3 separate regions of the Homo sapiens genome follow, and all the other regions are linked to region 3. The links are contacts of gene promoters, found by promoter capture Hi-C in blood cells and fetal thymus (Javierre and others, 2016). All regions are on one chromosome and are shown on one strand. The core of a region is centred on a gene start or on the middle of the fragment in contact, and the rest is flanking DNA. Distances in the headings are between cores, read along the strand shown. Region 1 overlaps ARHGAP10 (Rho GTPase activating protein 10). Region 2 overlaps TMEM184C (transmembrane protein 184C). Region 3 holds the start of ANAPC10 (anaphase promoting complex subunit 10).

Region 1 (3,693 bases), core at 231-2,730, 2.8 Mb before region 3:
TCTACCAAAAAGAAAAAAAATTAGCTGGGTGTGCTGGCATGCACCTGCAGTCCCAGCTACTCAGGAGGCTGAGGCAGGAGGAGTACTTGAGCCTAGGAGGTTGAGGCTGCAGTGAGCAGTGGTTGTGCCACTGCACTTCAGCCTCAGCGACAGAGTGACACCCTGTCTCAAAAAAAAAAACAAAAAAAACTCAACAACATTAGACTCAATATTCTACTACCTGCAGGGACAATTTTGGGGTGACTAGAATGAATCCACACATACCCATTTTGGATTTTTAAGTTTTGTCACATTATAGTCATACCACATATTTTATAACTGTTTTCACAAATTGTGAGACCACAGCAGCAGAAAAAGAATCTACTCCAGAACTCTATCATTAGCCCAGCTGAATGTCCAAACAATCCTCAAATACAAGTTGACACATAAATTATAAAAATAAGGTTTTATCAGCTACACTCCTTAGTATAAGGAACTGTACATAAAAAAAAAAAAAAGTTAGAAACAAAATCTACACAAAAGGTATTCACTCTCAACTTTTTTTTTTTTTTTTTTTTTTTGAGACAGAGTCTCACTCTGTCGCCCAGGCTGGAGTGCAGTGGCACGGTCTCGGATCACTGCAACCTCCACCTCCCGGATTCAAGCAATTCTCCTGCCTCAGCCTCCCGAGTAACTGGGATTACAGGCGCACTCCACCACACCCAGCTAATGTTTGTATTTTTAGTGGAGACAGGGTTTCACCATGTTGGCCAGCATGGTCTCAATCTCTTGACCTCGCGATCTGCCCGCCTAGGCCTCCCAAAGTGCTGGGATTACAGGCATGAACCACTGTGCCCGGCCCACTCTCAACTTCTAATTGTGAAAGAAATGAAGAGCAGGCAACAACCACAGCTTCCCATCCATCTACCTGTGTGTCTTTCACTATGTGCTGTGAGTCTGTCACAAAGCTATCTCACTACATTCCTAATGAGACCTCAAATTACACTCAACATACCCTGACCAGCTTGTCAGTGAGGACGCTTCCAGGATCAACTAGCACTGAGAGGAAAAACATATACCACCTGATCAAAATGACATATAGTGTACTGCTTAATAACATTCTCCTAAATCTCTTTATCCGAGACCTGGCAGAAAGCACACATTTTCCAAAGGAAAATATTCAAGACCAATAGCAACTGTAAACACCAATGCATTAGTAAATATGCATAAAATGTAGGGAAGAAATTCTACTCAAATGATAAGCCTATCTGGGAACAAAAATCAAGATGCCCAGTTAAGTAGTGCATTATAAATTCAATGCCTTAAAGTGGAGTGCTCTTTTGTCTGTAGCAGACATAGCTGATTTAGAGTTAACATAACAAAGCTTATCCTTAGAATTGACCCAGAAACTGCAGGAAAAGCCGCCAGGTGGCAGAATTTCCCAAGCCTCAACCAACTGTAGAGCAGTTGGTCACACCAAGAGTTGACCAGCAGGTGGCAGCATACCCTCAGTTTCTCAGTACAAACAGATCAGCATTGTCTTCATTTAATTAAGGCTTTTCATACAACACACAAATGAAAAATACTTTTCAAACATCTTTTTATAAAGAAAGCTTTCACTTCCTTACATTCTGAATGTTGATCTGTAGTTCCATTTTGTAGTGATTGAAGTCTTTGGCAAGTTCATGGCCCTGATGATAGAAGGTAAACATCCCCTGAAAAAATGACAGCATCTAAGACACAGGAAGAAAAGAGATATTAGCACAAAAAAACTCAGGAGAAAAAAAGAATCATATAAACAACCAAGTGTTCCCCCCGCCATCTCACTGTTATTCCACTGAAATAAACTGATTAAAGGGAAGTCACTAATATTCAAGTAAACACAAGTACATATTATCTATTAATTGGTCTTTATAGAAAATGATGCTTTTTTCCCTTAAATATCACAGCCATTAGACAGCTTATATGGCATGTTCTGCAGGAAAAATTGAATTATTAAGTCATCCATTTGTCCTCTTTAGTCAGGAGAATCCCAATATTTGTAATTGAAATCTTATCACTATAGGTTGACACAATCTTTAAGAAAGTAAAATCACAGAATCAAAGAGCTCCAGGCTCTCCCCAGCCACATCCAGCAGACTGCAACCCCTGTGTTTTGTTGACAAAGATATTCCATGACTTGCCAGGGGCAGCCTCAAACCCGTAATTAAACCTTTACTTTCCTACCAACTCCCAACCTGTCTCTGAATTAGAGGGCTGTTGCCTCTGCTCCACATGTAAGTCAATAAATCTAGAAGTAAAAAGAAGTGATCTGGGGAGACAGTTAAGGAAATCTTGAGATTCATTTTCTTCCAAATGCCACACCGTGGGTGGTTAGGAATCTGGGGCTCTGACACCCAGCAGGCTCCATTCCCAACGTCAGCCATGACCTGTTATGGGACCTTAGGCAAATTACTCAGCCTTTCTCTACTTCTATTTCCTTATCTCCTCATTGAGTTATAGTGTGGAATAATGAGTTCGGTACAACACTTAGAACAATGGCTTGAACAGAGACTGAGCATTATAAATGCCCAATAAAAGCAGGCCATTATTATTATTTCACATTAAAAAGAAAGCTTTGAGGAGGTTGAGTTTTTCTCTAATGGTTTAGGTTAATGACTATCGCTCCAACTAAACCATAGCTCCACAAATGCTCATTTTTAATCATTACTTGGTTATTCTTGTTTCTATAAACCATACTCACAATGAGTAAATTGTATACTGTGTGAATATTATCTTAATAAAGCTGTTTAAGAAAAAGAAACCATTCAATAAGTCGATATTAAAATTAAAATGAATCCTGAGAATGAGATCCAGTGTTTTTTTGCTGAAATCCACATGAAATATCCTTTACATTATGATATATACATTCATGTGCATACATCTTCATATATAAACAACTGAAGCTACTAGAAAACATCTATATAATCACAAACAAAAATCATGTGTTTCTAATATAAGTAAAAAGAAATGTTAGAGTAACTCACAAAATTGTCTCAAATGTTCCATATCCTGCTTCTAAACTTAGATTGCCATAAGCATTGTGAATTGTGTTTGAAGTCATGTTACAAACGATTGTTTAAAGTACCAAAGTTTGAACCGGTATAAACAACCCATGTTCACTCATTCTAGTATAAATTATTTCAGAGAAATTTTTAAAAGATAGAGCTATAGGCTAAGGTGGCAGAAATTGCACATGGTTGCCTTCCTTGAGATCATGTAGCAATGGGAATATTACGTGTATTATCAGTGCAAATACAGCTGAGAACCACTGATTTAGAGGCAATTCCTTGACTTCATGGCTATCTGTGTCTGCCCTTTTTAATATGTCTCTTTCATGTTTATGCACTATGGCCTCTAGTAACTATAAACCATAAATCAGATCTAGGAAAATAAATACTTATCTTACATTGCAAAAATCCACCAGCAAACAACTTGGCAATACTCACAGGTTCCACAAACTCAAACTTCTTTCTTTCTTGGATTTCCTGCAGCTTACACACATACTCGAGAGACAGTTCATAGAAGTGTTGCCGGTTCTGCTCTACTTGGATATCTGCCTATGTTAAAATCACAGAGGTTAGTCAAACTGGAGATGGTGAAAAGTGAAACGCTACATCAGAGGTCATCACACTGTGGTCCATGGGCCAAAATACGGTGTGCTGCCTGATTTTG
Region 2 (3,928 bases), core at 287-2,786, 2.5 Mb before region 3:
TTTCAAAATGAAATGACATAAGTTTTAATGTCCTACATGAACATATAATAAGGCAAGCTGATGTATTATGTTACCAAACACTGTTACTTATTGCTCCTACTTCATATCATATGTGGTTCTACAACCTACATTATCTTGTCTATGTCTTTTAACTAGCTGTGTGTTCTTACATAAGATCTGCAGACCTTGGTTCTCAACTGCAAAAGCATATTGATTAAATGATTACTGTTTTTACCTGCAATACTTTAATTTTTGGATTTGGGATTAATAATGTAAAAAAGACTAACATATATGTGGGATTACAAAACTGTTTTGTTAGCCTTCAAACAACTATGAACTGCATCAGGAGCTGTCTTATACTTATTGTTCTGCTATTAATACTTAATGCACTGCCTTGTAAAGAGCTGATTGCTACTTAAAAACTCTGCTTAAATGAAAAACCAAAACATAAAAGAATTAAACCAAACATACTTACTCTCCCATAGCCCATGGTGGACAGCAACATAAAGGAGGGAAATGTTTCTGTTGATCTTTGGCTTCAAGGATTAATACCAGATTTGGATACCGGTTAGTTAGATAATTGGTAAGGAATCCCATAAAGTTGTAAATTACATAAGCTTCATAGCATTCTCTGCAGGTATCCACATATATTGCAATTCCGGGATATTTCAAAGCTATCCACTATGAAAAAGCACAGATGTTAAAGATAGTTGCAGCTAAGATAAAATGAATCACCACTCCATTCATGGTACTCACAATAAGCTAATTTTTATGCTTGAGATGTCTTGTCATATACTTACATGGGACTCTCTAAAATTTATCATTATGAGGGCTATCAATCTGTGAAATGAATGCTTAAAAGCAATAAACATCTTAGATATTGGTAAACAAAAACAAGTGTTTGAGGGGTAAATAATGAATAAAGAGAGAAGCTAAAGTAAGTACTTGTGTTCTTAAATCTGAAGTTTTTCTTAATATGATCATAGATAATGCTGCTAAAGATATTTCCTTTAATATTTACTCATATTAGAAGCAGTCATCTACAACAATTTCATGTGTATCCACTGGGGAAGGTTTTTAAATTTTTGATTCAAATAAAAGACGTAATAAATAAAAAGAGTAGTATATTAATTTAAAATATTACATTCTTTAACAATCTGAAAGTTTAAAAGAAAGCAAACAGCTATAGATTTTTAAACATTTATAATATAACATTTTACATTTTTAATTATACTTTATATTCTCTATCATTAGAAACAAGTGAACCTTTTTACTTATTAATCTGACTCCTTGTCAATAACATACTTTCATTATCTTAAGCATTCTGTAATTATAGTATCATCAAACAAGTCCTTAGTTAATGAGATAAAAATGAAACATACTTACACTATCTAAACTGTAAATAGGTACCATCCAAAGAATCCTATTGGAAAAGGAAAACAGAAATTTAAAACATTTTATGTCATATTTATGAAATAAGCCAACACAACAGTAGTGGAATCAAAATTATTAAGACATACCTTATTATTGGTTTTTGTAGTTCAGGTTGTGTATAATGCACTAAGTGTTGCAATATCACCCACAGTGATATAGGAATAGTCAACAGCAAAAAGATTCCAGCAATAAACCAAGCCTTGGTGTGTATTCCAACCTTAAGAAACAAAATAACATGTTAATATAAATTCTGATATTAAAACAAAAGAGCTTGGCCAGGCTCAGTGCCTTGTGCCTATAATCCTAGCACTTGGGGAGGCCGAGGTGGGAGGATCGCTTGAGGCCAGGAGTTTGAAACCAGCCTGGGCCTACAAAGTGAGAACCCGTCACTACAAAAAAAAAAAATTAAAAAATTGAAAAAAATTTGTGGGGGAGGGGGGACTTTTATATTAACTTGTAATCTTGCCTTGAAGAGTATGAATCTTTTTTTTTTTTTAAGGGGAAAAGGTGGGCATTTATTTTTGATGCTTGAAGGGTTGAGCAGTTTACAATTAAAATAGAACTAAGGTCTACAACCTTAAGTATCACTGTTTCTTTTCTTTTTCTTTTTTTTTTTTTGAGACAGTTTTGCTCTGTTGCCCAGGCTGGAGTACAGCGGCGCGATCTTGGCTCACTGCAACCTCTGCCTCCGGGGTTCAAGCGATTCTCCTGCCTCAGCCTCCCAAATAGCTGGGATTACACACCCAGCTAATTTTTTTGTATTTTTAGTAGAGATGGGGTTTCGCCCTGTTGGCCAGCCTGGTCTGGAACTCCTGACTTCAAGTGATCCGTCCGCCTCCGCCTCCTGAAGTGCTGGGATTACAGGCATGAGCCACCGTGCACGGCCCAGTTTCACTGTTTGAACAGGACTTTTTCTTCCTCTACCAGGGGCCAAAGATAAAAGAGGTAGAAAACAAAAGTATGGAGAACAAATGCATTTTTACAACAACAAATTTCCACATTAAAATGTATAGAAAGCTTGAAAAGGGCTGAGTGAGGTGGCTCATGATTGCTTGAGCCCAGGGGTTCCATCCAGCCCAGCCTGAGCAACATGGCGAGATGCCATCTCTACAAAAAATAAATTAGCGAGGCGTGGAAGCATGTGCCTGTAGTCCTACCTACTAGGAAGACTGAGGTGGGAGATCTGCTTGAGCCCAGGAGTTCAAGGCTACAGTGAGCCATGATTTGTGCCACCGTACTCCACCCTGGGCAACAGAGTGAGACCCTGTCTCAAAAACAAAAACAAACCAAAAGCTAATACAAAGTCTTACTGATTGTGGGGGCGTTAATCAAACAGTAAATGAAAAGCAAATATATGGACGTAAGACTCTAAAAGGAATGTCTGAGCACTCATATTACAGGGCTTTTTGCTTTTATCCATTTCATTTAAAATTGAGTACAGTAGTCCCCACTTATATGTGGGGATTAGGTTCCAAGACCCCCAGTGAATACCTAAAACTATAGATAGTCCCAAATCCTATATGCATATACTATGTTTTTTCCTATACATATATACTTATGATAAAGTTTAATTCATAAATTGGACACACAGTAAGTGGTTAACAAGAAAATAGAACAATTATATATTGTAATAAGTTATTTAAAACTTACAAATTACTTATTTCTGAAATTTTTCATTTAATATTTTCAGACCATGGTGGACAACAGGTTACTGAAACCAAGGGAAGTGAAATTTCAGTGATGATCTAAGAAAATAATAATAGGATAAGCATATTCTAGATCTCCTTTATTATAAAGGATGGTACTGCGGCCAGGCGCGGTGGCTCATGCCTGTAATCCCAACACTTTGTGAGGCTGAGGAGGGCAGATGGTTTGAGTCCAATAGTGTGAGACCAGTGTGGGCAACATGGCAAAACTCCATCTCTACAAAAAATACAAAAAATTAGCCGGGTGCCAGAGGATCACTTGAGCCCAGAAGGTCAAAGCTGCAGTGAGCCATGACCGCGCCACTGCACTCCAGCCTGGGTGACAGAGCGAGACCCTGGCTCAAAAAAAAAAAAAGAAAGAAAAAAAGAAAAAAAAGTATTGCCAAGTAATTGCTTATTTTGATTGCTTTAGTTCCAAAAACTAGAACTTGGTGGTACACTTAAGAGAAAAATGATGTGCTTGTGACTAATGAAGGTCAAGTGTCCTCAGTGTGCTATAAAGAAGAAAGTTGTTTTTGTTTTTTAAACAATCATAAAACAAGTGACTAGAGACTTGGTCACTGCAGGCCAAATTTTAAAATCCTGTACCACATAATATCATTTTTACAGTGCAAGTGGTAATTTAGTTTCAGAAAAACATCATCTCTCCACATTAATGTCATTAATTTTAATTATTGGTTTTACAGTTGTTTTGATTTTTGAGCTATATAAAAGTTACATGCACAAGAAATTTAACCTATTTTATGTGTGTATATATTTAAGTAACATTGTAATAGAATAACTCAACA
Region 3 (3,865 bases), core at 1,066-3,565:
TGCCTTTCTACAATTACTCAGTGAAAGAGCATAATGAATTCCCCTCCAGGGGATAAATCACCACGAAATTGCTTAAACTTTATTTCTGTTAAACTACTAAAATATTTAATTTTTCAAACTATTTTAAAAACCAAAAGACTGTAAAAGACAATTTTTTAAAAAGACACAGGGATCTTGCTATGGTGTCCTGGCTGAGGGCAGTGATCACAGGACACTACAGACTGGGACTCCTGGGCTCAAGGGATCCTCTTGCTTTAGCCTCCCGAATAGCTGGGACTATAGGTGCATGTCACTACCCTGGCTTGATTTTTACAGTAGAATAAAAACATACCAGAAGTGGTTAATAAACTGATTTATATAAAAATAGTGATAAATTGTAATGCATTTAAGAAAAATGAACATGGATTCTTTGTAGAACTGTTAATTAACTGTGTGAACACTTTTAATTCAATTTCTGTATCAGTTTCAATAATTGGGGCAAGGGGATTCCCTACTTGTTTTTCAATAGAAAACCTAGGCACAGTAAAGCTTGGAGAGGAAGATTATAGTTAACAGGCTCCTGCAAACAAAGAAGGATTTGCGGATATTTCAGATTCGAAGACAAAAGTGTTCAAAATTGACACTAGAACAATGACCCTCAGTGTCATTCTTACAGCTGAGAGGAAAAAAGGAAGTGAGGAATACTTAGAAGCATTTACAGTCTAAAGCCAAAATAATTGTAACGCTGTGTAAAAGCATTTCAAAGACTGCTGTTAACTAATGATGTTTAGTATCACATGAAATAGTCTAACCCATGCTTATTGTAGTTTATTAGTCTTACAAAACACGTAGAAGTTAGGAGTGGTACACGGCTCTGATTTCAAAGAGTTTTAAGTTTAAGACATTTAGAAGAACTCTAACTTAATATTGTTTTCTCCCCCTCTCTCCCAATTGTTAGATGCTCTTCCAACAAACAAACAAACAAAAAAACTCCCTTTTTTAAAATAGGGGAGAACTAAGTTCTCAAAAAGCTCACAAACCCCAAACAGCTTTTGGTTCAAATACAGGTTCTGAGCCTTTGGTTACACTAACAAAGTATTAGTGTCAGGTGGCTGGTATACAATGAATATTCTCAGAATATGGGACAAACTACTGCAACATAAATGCCACTATCATAAATGACTAGTTAGCAGTCCTGTTGGGAAAGAGTAAAAAAATAAAACATGTTATTTGGACAGTTCTTCCTCTTATAGATTTTTACCATCAAAAAAGAGAAAATAAGCTTATGTAGTTAATGGGAGGTGGGAATTCGGCTTTGGCTGTCATTCATTCACAATACGTATTAAATGCCTACAATGTACGAAGCCCTGAAGAGATAATAAAGGTATTCTGAGTAAAGACATCAACCTTGATCTCAATGAGTATTAGATACAATAAAAGGAAAAACGGGTAAGGGGAGAAAGTGCCTAGTGCTACAAAAGCGTACCAAAAAAACTATAGGATTTCTACTGGGAAACTACTTGGGACAACCCCAGTCATAGCTGCGTACACGCTGTTCTGAGAAAAGCAGAGTGACATGTGGGCATCATTTCTATAAAGCCTGGGAGTGGACAGCGAGTATTCGACTTCATGGCGGCAAGATGCCATGACTCATTCCACTCAACAAAACGTGGAAGCCACGACTTCCCACAACCAAATATGCACATGTGACAATATATCCATTTTGGGTGCTGGAGGAGTGTGGGGGTACTAGAGAGTGCTGTAAGTTCTAAAGGTGCCTTCCTCTCCAGCAGGTTTAGCTTCAGGGCGGGAGTGGGGTAAAGGGGGAGTGGAGACTACGGCATCTAGGTCCATTCTCGAAGTCCCTCGCGGGTGTGGCAGGCAACAGCGGCGACAGCCGGGTCGGCTGGAGGGGAAGACCGAGGCGCCCCCAAGCTCTCGGCGTCGCCCGCGCTCCATCAGTTCCAGCTGTCCCGCAGGAACCGCTGCCACGCGCTGCTGCTGTCTCCGCCACCTAAGGCCTAACCAAAGGCTCTCGGAGAACGTCCCTACATTCTTTCCAACCTGGCAGATGGCAGCTAACGGCCAAACCTCTCCGGGCTATTCACGTACCTGGAGAAAACGATCCCCTTGCGGAGGGGAGCACAGAGGCCAAATCAGCTCTTGCCTTCACTTTTCAGCCACACAGCGTGTTCTCACGGCCACCGGCCAAAATGGCGGTGCCCAGCCGCCGCACGCGCAAGCCATAGGACGTAGTGCGCGCGCGCGACATAGAGCGTGAGGCGGAACCCTGGAGGTAGGTAGGGAGATATGACGTCATTGAGCTGCGACCCTTGTTCAACGCCGTTGGCGAAGCCAGCTGCTGGAGGTGCCGAGAATCTGAGTTTCGGCAAGCAGCCAGGTCTGGAAACTGTGAGTGTGTGGGCTTTTCTCCGACGTCGAGCGTGGTCCTAGCGTAAACAGATGCATTCGCCTCTCCGGTTTCAATCTTTTTTTACGTTTGCGCTTTCCTCAAGGCCGGTGGGTCAGGAGTGGAGCCTTAGTCATTCTAACGCTGGAGGTGTCAGTAGGACCAACAGAGTCTGGTGCCGACACGGCTTACTGTTGCGCGCTCTTCTAGGCCTCAACTTCCTCTCAACTGTGTGGTCAGTTCAGGGCCGGGAATCCAATCTTTTCCGAGCTCCATATTTTATCCACTTGGTGGCGTCCAGTCCCAAGTCCGGCAGTTGAATTCTGCCCTAAAGATGGGCTTTATTTCTATCTTTTTTTAGGTAACAGGACATTCAGTTAGTAATGATGGTTGCAGGTTGAATAGTCTCGCCCTAGATCTCACCTAACTTGCAGGCAAGTGACAACTAGTTCATAACTGAACCTATTCATCTGTTTATTCATTCAGTAAATTACTTATTGAGCGTTTAAGCCTCAGGCCTTGCCAAAGTTTACAGTCCGTTGTGTCTGCCGTTATTTAGTAAGTATCAAGTGCTTGTGTGCCGATTAAAGAACAACTTCGGATACAATGGGAGGTGTCAAGGAAACGGTATGCAGAACTATTGCACCTATTTTGAATAGCATATATAACAATGTTCAGTAGCAGTAACTGCGCTACCAAAGCAGTTTTACATATTGTTCACGATCCAGTATTGAAGTGTTTTTTCACATATGAATAGACTTAGTAAAATTAACAAAAGATGTGAAAGATGAGGTCAACCTTTTTAGAATGGGCCAGTTATTCACTTCAAAATCTTGAAGCCATTTTCCTGACCTTATCTTCTATGGTAAGAGCATATGTAAGTGAACTTTTAACATTTTTTTCTTATTTTTGTGCTTTTTGGGACAGTGTCTTGCTCTGTTACGCAGGCTGGAGTGCAGTAGCACGATCTCGGCTCACTGCAACCTCCGCCTCCCAGTTCAGGTGATCCTCCTGTCTCAGCCCCCCTGGGACTACAGGTGTGTGCCGCCACACCAGGCTGATTTTTTGGAATTTTTTTAGAGACAGGGTTTCACCATATTCCAGGCTGGTCTCGAACTCCTGGGCTCAAGCAATCCACCTGCCTTGGCCTCCCAAACTGCTGGGATTACAGGTGTGAGCCACCGGGCTGGGTCTTAAATAAAACTTTTGACAGCTAGAGGGCAGGTATGACTGTTCTCTGCATCACTCAATGAATATTTAAAATGAGGATCTTAGTGGGGTGATGGGATCACACCTGTAATCCCAGCTACTTGGGAGGCTGAGGTGGGAGGATCGCTTGAAGCAAGGTGTTCAAGACCAGCCTGGGTAACATAGCTAGATCCTGTCTCTAAAAAAAAAGGAATTAAGTAAATAAAATGAGGATCAATATTTATATATTCCTAGAATAAAAGTATTTCAGTCTGACTTTTCTAGGGC

What was found. Contacts are between HindIII fragments. The CHiCAGO score rates a contact against its expected background, and 5 or more counts as called.
Region 1: a fragment that was not itself captured here is called in contact with the fragment with the promoter of ANAPC10 in region 3 in 1 of 17 cell types (fetal thymus); the score reaches 5.4 in fetal thymus.
Region 2: a fragment that was not itself captured here is called in contact with the fragment with the promoter of ANAPC10 in region 3 in 5 of 17 cell types (total CD4 T cells, non-activated CD4 T cells, M2 macrophages and 2 more); the score reaches 8.8 in total CD4 T cells.

Annotation. Positions count from the first base shown.
Region 1 is chr4:147,864,731-147,868,423 of GRCh38, reverse strand. It overlaps ARHGAP10 (Rho GTPase activating protein 10), which reads right to left. Exons shown (of 23, transcript NM_024605.4): 6 at 3,468-3,578; 7 at 1,608-1,712. Among named protein-coding and RNA genes, the nearest start is that of MIR4799, 84 kb to the right of the region's middle. RefSeq lists enhancers at 272-948, 949-1,626 and silencers at 1,447-1,496, 1,295-1,519. The HindIII fragment of the contact is 229 bases long and covers 1,366-1,594 here.
Region 2 is chr4:147,621,557-147,625,484 of GRCh38, reverse strand. It overlaps TMEM184C (transmembrane protein 184C), which reads right to left. Exons shown (of 10, transcript NM_018241.3): 2 at 1,521-1,651; 3 at 1,387-1,423; 4 at 476-681. Among named protein-coding and RNA genes, the nearest start is that of TMEM184C, 6.1 kb to the right of the region's middle. The HindIII fragment of the contact is 1,834 bases long and covers 620-2,453 here.
Region 3 is chr4:145,096,646-145,100,510 of GRCh38, reverse strand. It overlaps ANAPC10 (anaphase promoting complex subunit 10), which reads left to right and starts at 2,315. Exons shown (of 5, transcript NM_001256706.2): 1 at 2,315-2,391. It overlaps ABCE1 (ATP binding cassette subfamily E member 1), which reads right to left and starts at 2,200. Exons shown (of 18, transcript NM_002940.3): 1 at 2,092-2,200. RefSeq lists enhancers at 1,889-1,968, 1,317-2,188, 2,219-2,478, 2,559-2,608, 1,742-2,941 and 1 more. The HindIII fragment of the contact is 4,584 bases long and covers 1,264-3,865 here.